Regions from separate parts of the Homo sapiens genome. Here region 2 is linked to region 1. The links are contacts of gene promoters, found by promoter capture Hi-C in human tissues and cell types (Jung and others, 2019). All regions are on one chromosome and are shown on one strand. Each heading gives the region's core, a stretch centred on a gene start or on the middle of the fragment in contact. The rest is flanking DNA. Distances are from core to core; before and after follow the strand shown.

Region 1 (3,920 bases), core at 750-3,249:
TCCCTCCATGTCAGAACCCTGTTGGGCCCTGGGAGTCAGTTCTTTTCCTGGCTCTTGCAGGGGCCTGACCCAGCTCTCGATCTAGGAACCATGGTGGGGGTGTTGCCCAACTCAGCATCTGGTTTCAAAAAGAGCAAGAGCCAGTGCCCCCAGCCATGCCTGCACCTACCTCTCTTTCCATTGGTGCCTGCCTCTCCCTTGGGCCCAGGGGCCCCAGGCAGCCCCGGACAGCCTCGGAGAATGGTGAGCTTGTCAGAGCCCTCCAGGCCCACCATCTTCACCTCTGCAGAAAAACACAGGTGGCCACTCAGTGTCACCTGGGCCTGAAGACTCCACTGAGCCATAGATATACCACTCAACTGAAAGGCATCTGCCATCTTGGTGACATCAGGACTGGGCAGATGGCTATAGCCACAGCCACCTCCCTCAGCTGGAGGGTCACCTGGAAGGGAGGTTTTCCTGCCCTGGTGGGCACTTGGTCTGTCCTCACCTCTTGGGCACTGGTCAGGCAGAAAGGTGATTTGGGGCAGAACCCTGGCCTTGGAGGCTACCCTGCCTGAAGGCAAACCTTACTTCCTCAGTACTGTGTGTCCTGAAACAAGTCCCTTAACCCCTCTGAGCCTCTGTTCCCTTACCTACCGAGGGGTGCAGGTTCATTTCAGCTCCTACCATTTAAGACAGCATCCTAATCTCGTCTGTTCTCATCTATCATATCATTGTAATCAATATCGGGTGAGAAGGACACAGGGAGAGAGGCTACCATTGCAACTCCCACGCCTGATCTTGGAGCAGATCTGAGAGTGGATGGGCTCCTGTGGGTCCACCTTGTTCCTCCACAGAGGGAGGCGTCCTTCAAGGACACTGAACAAGTTGGTGCGAAACTAGAGCTGGAATGCAGCTTGTTGTTTTTAATTAGATAACTCAAATTCAAGTGAGTGTGTTACAAAAATAACACGTGCTATTATTTGATCATTTAGAAACTCTAGAAGTATTTAAGGAAGAAAATAATGCCACCCTAACCCCACCACTCCACAACGAGCCACTAGGAGTTTCCAAGCGAATCCCCGCTGTTCCTGGCCTGTGTCACACTTCACGCCACGGATTGCTCCTTGAATGCGATGCTAGTCACAGCACACCGCAGAGCTCTGTGTCTCACATGCATTCCAGAAATCCTGACACGAATCTCTGCAAGCATCAGGAGCATCACAAATTCCTGACCCTGCATCCCAGCCCCGGGTAGACGGAGTCAGGACCTGACTCCAGAACCTGCATTTTCAACCTGCCCTCGCATGCGCCGGAGCCCATGGTTTGGCACCCGAGTGTCCCCTCGGGAGCCCCGAAGGAGGTCCAGAACTCACGGGGACAATGCCACCCTTATTGTGCCGCATCAGGGACACCATGGGAACTGCCATCTCCAGAGCCCAGCAGGTCCTGGATGGAAAGGTCCTGCAGTGCTCATCCCCGCCTGACACCCTGTCTTTCCGGGTGCTTATCCCCACCTCACACCCTGTCTCTCTGTGATGGCGACCATGGCAGAATATCTGACTGGTGTCTACCCAGCTGGCACCACAAGCCTCACCTCCCCACACAACACCATGACTACGCTTTTTACGCTTAGAGGGGGACATGTGGCCCAGGGAGACTGGAAACCTGCCTCGGTTTCCATTATGGGAGGGCAAGCAGAGGAAGCTCCGTCTCTGAGATGCCACATCCATTCGGGGCCTCTGCGTTTGTTCACATAAGATGAGGCATGCAGAGCTGCTGTCTCGTTAGACGATGCTCCACACGGCCTGGTGCAAGGCCTGGAAGCCAGGAAGCCACCAATCACGAAGCTGCCAGCTTTCAGGGACGAGAAGTTTCCAGGAGGAGGCCCTGGAGTGCCCTTACCTGGACAGGTGTCTGCCGCCTGGAGAGCCCAGGCCATGCCCAGGAAAGAGAGCAGCAGGGTGGCAGCGCCCAGGACCCCCACAGCTCTGTCCAGCTCCATCTCTTCTGGTCTTTGCTTCAAAAGGTGCCTGCCCTCTTATAGGGCTAGAGAAGCCAGCCTCCCTCAGACTCCAATTTCTCATCTTCCGAGTGACAGCCGCTTCCTCTCCGCGGGCTTGGTGACGCCAGCAGGAGGTGCGAGATCATCTCCAGGGCTGCTCCCTACCCCCCGCCCCTTGGGGATCCCATGGCGACTGTCATCCCTGCAGGGGGACGGTCTCCTTCCAGGGAACAGGCTGACTTGCTTGTGGCCTTGGGCAAAGAGCCCAGGCCCATCCTCCCACCTTTGTTCAGCGGTGAGCAGATGTCACCATGAGCTGAGAACGGGGAACAAGGAAGGGTTTGCTAAAGATGTTCTGCTTCAAAGAGGTCTCTCTCCCTTATCCGAATACCTAGAGTCCTCATGGCCAGGGCTGGTCATGGGCCACTGGTGTGGGCCTTACACAGTAACCCTCACCACATCATGAGCAGACTTGGGACTCTCCTCAGGAGGCTTGGAAACTGCCACTATGAGGTCCAGGCAGGCTGCCAGGGTGAAAAGGAGAGGAAAATGCGTGTGTGTCCACTGTTTCCTGGGGCAGTATGTAGAGCACAGGGGCACATGAACAGGAGGGAAAGGAGAGAAGAGTGGGGAGCCTGGGGGACTATGACCCAGGTACACATCTGAAGGGGAGACCTTGAGTGTGAATGCAGGGGCTTAGCCTGTAGGGAGGATGAGAGTAGGTGAATTTCACTCCTAGGGCCCAGGGAACCCCCTGAGCCCTGAGGCCAGACATCCCACCTGTAGGATGGCTGTGGACTTACTTCAGTGGTTGTGTTCGCCTTTTGGAGAAGAGCTGGCCTGAAGGTGCACTCTCGCCTTGGACTGAGCCAGGTTAGAGACAGAGACAGTAGCAGGTGGGGCCCCAGAGGCCGTATACCTAAAGCCCCCAGAGACGGAACCAGCACTGCACCTCCCACTACCACCACCGCACCCTGCCACCTGCTGCCATCGGGATGCCGAGGTGCCTTCTTCCTTGGCAAGATCAGTAGAAGGATTTTAAACTGTGACCCCAGCCCAGCAAAGCCACGCGAGAAACAAAATCCCATCGGATTTTCCTTCAATGCCCATGGAGATGTGTGGTCCTGAGACTATGACTAGTTAAGACCCCCCTCGGGTTCCGTGGTGTTTAGGGCAGACCTCTCAAGACTTAATTAAGGCTATGCCAGATGCAGATGAGGTCCAGGGATGAACCTGGGGAAGACACAGGCTCCATGGAGATGCAGATATGGAACCTAGAAAGATGGCTTGGGGGCATCTTCCTCAAAGTCCTGAAGTCACCTGCAGAGGAGCCAGGTCCCCAGAGCTGCCCAGTGAAACCCCAGCAGCCAAAATTCCGAGTCCTTAGGCAGGTTCCTTTACTGCATGCTATTTGTCCTTCCTAATAGAAGCATCTTTCAAACCTAGATGACTTAAAATTAAGTCTAGAAGGCTTTAAAAGCCCAAAGACATTATATTAATATTTTAGTGTTCAGAAATCTAAAAAAATATGCTATTTAAAGTACTTGCAATAATCAAGAGAATCTGGCCTATTGGAGTGGGTGCAGGATAACTTCAACAGAAAATGGCCAATTGAGTAATTGATTTGGCAGAGTGCATTTATGCGGAAAACTTACCGAATTCATATAAACTATTGAATCACTTTATTGGAACTCTGAGTTTATCACATGCTGAATTTAAATGATTACATTTCTAGCAGTTCATATTCAGAAGGATTTTTTAAAGTTAGACAAGGTACTAAAGGATAAATGTGGTTCTATTAAATGTATAAATGCAGTAACAATGTTTGAAGGTGTTTAGTTGGCTAAGTTAAGGAATGGACCAAGAATTATTCACAGGCTCCTTATAGGTGGTTATTAAAAGATAGAATAATAAGGTTTATAAGTCACACTTT
Region 2 (3,920 bases), core at 393-2,892, 66 kb before region 1:
ACCCTCTCATGGGAGGGTCTTAAGACCCACAATCCGAAAGGCAGGAGAAAGTTAGGGTGCCGCCTTGGGGCAGGTGAAAGGAGGGCAGGAGAAGGCAGAGGCTGCCCATGAGGCTCAACACCCCCAACATTCTAACGCAAATGGGAACAAGTGCTATGGGAGTTATAAGCCAGGAGCCGCAGACGAAAACCCGTATCTATCCTAACAGCACATAACTATACAAAATCTATTTCCTGGCCACATAGTCACTTTTTAACGTAACCTTGGTTAACAGCATGGTGTTCAGTGTTTACAGAACACCTGGGCCTGGAGTGAGTGTGCCGGTCAGGTTCACATAGATATAAAGGATATGAAGGGAACCCCGGACACTGCTCCAAAAAGCAGACCCAGGGATGCCTGTGGGTGGCCGGTGATGGGCCCCTCTCACCCCTGGGGAGCTGGGCTGGTTGCAACCTGTCCGCCGGCACTGCCAGGCCAGGGTCACGGCTGAGGATACCCAGGGCAGGTGCAGAGGTGAGGAGGTCCCAGGTGAGCACCCTGGGAGTGGGGTGAGCTCTGCCGCGGCTTTCCTGGGGAGGGCTGTGGGAGGCGCAGGTGTGTCAGCAACGACCTGAGGCTGTGCTGTGGCCCCATGGCTTGCTGTCCATGGCCTTCATCTGCCTCTCGCCTCCTCTGGAAATGAGAGTGACTGTCCCGGCCACCCTGACCCCGCTGACCGAGAGCCCAGACGAAGGGGTAGTGGAGGGGGACCTGCTTTTCTGTCCAGAAGGATTTGGTTTGAGCCTTAGTTTCTCATGCAGCTGCAGGTGACAAGGGCCGGCAGCTGTGCCTGGCAGGGCAGGGCCCTTCTATCCAATTCTGAGCTGAATCTTCCAAGCCAATGATCTCACAGACGTGGTGTCAGTGTTACAACAGCCCGCGAGGCTGCCGAGCCACTGAGAAACTAGGGTCACCTGCAAGTGAGCAGGTGGGCAGCACCAGGCAGTGTGGGGGCAAGGATGCCTGCAGGGGCACCTCCTGCAGGGATGAGCCTTCTAGCACATTCTAAGGGAACCAACGCCCTCTGCCCTGCTGGTGCTGTCCCCAGAGACTTTGATAGCTGGGTTTTGGGTGGGTCTTGGCTTCTCAATGTAAGAGGCCAGTGCGGGGTCCTGACGTGCAGCTGGGCTGGGGCGGTGTTCAGAGCACCGGGCTCCTGTCCTCTCTCCTCACCCGTCATGCAGGGACCTCCAGCCTTCCTTCCCCAGGCTGCTGGGGTGGGGAGGGGTGTGGAAGCTAGAGTCTGTGCAGCAAACATGGGTGGTCGACACTGCTGTCTGTCAGGCGGAGCAGCCCTAGAGCGGCACAGCCGGTCCGCTCCCCCGCATCCTTGGAGACAGATGGCCAGAGCCTCTGCTGGGTGGGGGAGAATTCCGCACCCTCCTGGCTGGAGGCGAGGCCGTGGGCCGCCGGCTCTGGGAGCTCCAGGCTCTGCCTCCCACACCCGCTGCTCTGGACACGCAGCATCGCTCTGCGGGGAGAGAATGGTGGCGGGCCTGGCTGGCTCTCCCTGGCCCCCCAGGGACCTAGTGGGAACAAGCACTGCAGGACCAGGAGAGAAAGTGGGTGAGGAAGCGGGGGGGGGGGTGTGGGGGTGAGCGAGTGTGAGTGTGCAAGCAGGTGTACCCGGCTATGCATGAGCACAGTGGCTGTGTGCAGGGGTGTGCCTGTGTCTGTGTGTGTGTCTGGTGTGAATGTGTCTTTGCCTGTGTCTGTGTGAATGTGTCTTTGTGTGTGTGTCTGGGGTGAATGTATCTGTGTCTGTCTGAAGTGAATGGTCTGTGTGTGTATCTGGTGTAAATGTATCTTTGTGTGTGTCTGGTGTGAATGTGTCTGTGTGTGTTACTGGTGTGAATGTGTGTGTGTCTGGTGTGAATGGTCTGTGTGTGTCTGGTGTGAATGTGTGTGTGTCTGGTGTGAATGGTCTCTGTCTAAAGTGAATGGTCTGTGTGTGTGTATCTGGTGTAAATGTCTCTTTGTGTGTGTCTGGTGTGAATGTGTCTGTGTGTCTGGTGTGAATGTGTGTGTGTCTGGTGTGAATAGTCTGTATGTCTGGTGTGAATGGTCTGTGTGTGTCTGGTGTGAATGTGTGTGTGTCTGGTGTGAATGGTCTTTGTGTGTGTCTGGTGTGAATGTGTATGTGTCTGGTGTGAATGGTTTGTGTCTGTGTCTGGTGTGAATGTGTCTTTGTGTGTGTGTGCCTGATGTGAATGTATCTGTGTCTGGTTTGAATGTGTCTGTGTGTGGCTGGTGTGAATGTGTGTGTGTCTGTCTGAAGTGAATGGTCTGTGTGTATCTGGTGTAAATGTGTCTTTGTGTGTGTGTGTGGTGTGAATGTGCCTGTGTGTTTTTGGTGTGAATGTGTCTGTGTGTGTGTCTGGTCTGAATGTGTCTTTGTGTGTGTGTCTGCTGTGAATGGTCTTTGTGTGTGTCTGGTGTGAATGTGTCTGTGTGTGTGTGTCTGGTGTGAATGTACCTGTGTGTTTTTGGTGTTAATGTGTCTGTGTGTCTGGTGTGAATGTGTCTGTGTGTGTGTGTCTGGTGTGAATACATCTGTGTGTGTGTCTGGTGTAACCCTGTCCCAAGGAGTGGCCCAGCCATCCTTCATGGGTCACAGACTGTGACATTTGGGACTACCAAGTAGTGGGCTTCCCCTGCTGTCCCCAACCCCACCCCACACCCCCAGCACCAGGTGGCTTCATCAGAGTCACAGCTGCCTGTTTGGGAGGCTCTGGGCCCTGAGCGGAGAGGGAAAGGGGCAGATGGGCCAGCACACACTCAACTCACTCTTCGACTTGGCTTTCGCAGGTGGAGCTGCCAGAGGAGCCTCACAGCCTCCCCCAGCCCACAGTGACCACCCTCCTGCCATGAGGCCACTGCTGATGAGCCTGAGTCCCATGTGCATTTGAGGGCACCTGTGGCCCCAGGCTCCGGGCCAGGGCCTGGCTCAGGGCAAGAACCAAGTTAACTGTCTCGTGAATTGGGGACGGGGTAGGCTGCATGGGCAGAGGTGACAGGGGTGCTTCCCCACCCTCCGCGCCACCCTCTGCCCTCTGCCCTTTGCCCTCTGCCCTCTGCCCTCCGCCCTCTGCCCTCCACCCTCTGCCCTCCGCTCTCCAGGTGGCTTTCCCCAGGACCAAGTGTGGTTCTGCCCTGGGAAGAGAATGGAGCAAGGGTCTCCTGGCAGAAATTAGGAACCCAGGACTTTACCCACCTTCAACCAGCCAAATGGCCTCGGTCAATCCTCTCGAACTGCATACCTCAGTATTCCCATTTGTATAAAGAGGGTCTCCATGCTCTTTGAGGACCAGGATCAGATCTGACAAGTGCAAGGTTAAGGTCAGGCTTTCTGGTGACAGAAGGTGTGCAAGCTGACACAGGTGAGGTTTTGTTGACCTGCTTACCTTGCTGGCGTTTTCTTCTTCCTGAAATCCCTGCTTACTGTTTCTCCTCCATTGCCCACCACCTGCCCCAAAACATTCCCCGCCTGCCAGGTAGGGAGACCTGCAGTGAGGACACCCACACGCGGGGTTTCTGTGTCCCTCGAGAGGGGGTGCGAGGGCAATGCCAAACAGGGGAGGGTGGCTAAGGGTGGAATTTCAGGCATGAGCAGGGCCGCCGTGTGTCTAAGCCAGGCATGGAGCAGGGAGGGGCAGGGAGCGCTTCTCCATCCAAGGAGCTCCGGGGGCAGCACACAGCCTCGGGACAAGCCCAGCTGTGGGGCCCGGATCCCGGTCCAGTTCAGTCTCAATCTCCACTCGTTTCATTTCTCTTGAGTCTCTGGGCCTGTTTCCCCATCTTTACATTGCACTGTGGGGTTGCAATGCACAGGGTGGTGAGGTTGGATGAGATGAGCCGACTTTGCCTATGTTAGTATCTCT

The links. Contacts are between HindIII fragments. The study calls those that stand out against the background at their distance.
Region 2: a fragment that was not itself captured here is called in contact with the fragment with the promoter of FCN2 in region 1 in 2 of the 25 tissues and cell types used here (adrenal gland and lymphoblastoid cells).

The regions. Positions count from the first base shown.
Region 1 is chr9:134,878,889-134,882,808 of GRCh38, reverse strand. FCN2 (ficolin 2) reads right to left here and starts at 1,999. Exons shown (of 8, transcript NM_004108.3): 1 at 1,888-1,999; 2 at 170-283. The coding sequence starts at 1,987. The HindIII fragment of the contact is 19,799 bases long and covers 1-3,920 here.
Region 2 is chr9:134,944,906-134,948,825 of GRCh38, reverse strand. It overlaps LOC105376313 (a long non-coding RNA gene), which reads right to left. Exons shown (of 3, transcript XR_930421.3): 1 at 3,444-3,920; 2 at 3,254-3,358; 3 at 1-1,510. LOC124902302 (a long non-coding RNA gene) reads left to right here and starts at 3,128. Exons shown (of 2, transcript XR_007061846.1): 1 at 3,128-3,419. The HindIII fragment of the contact is 7,666 bases long and covers 1-3,920 here.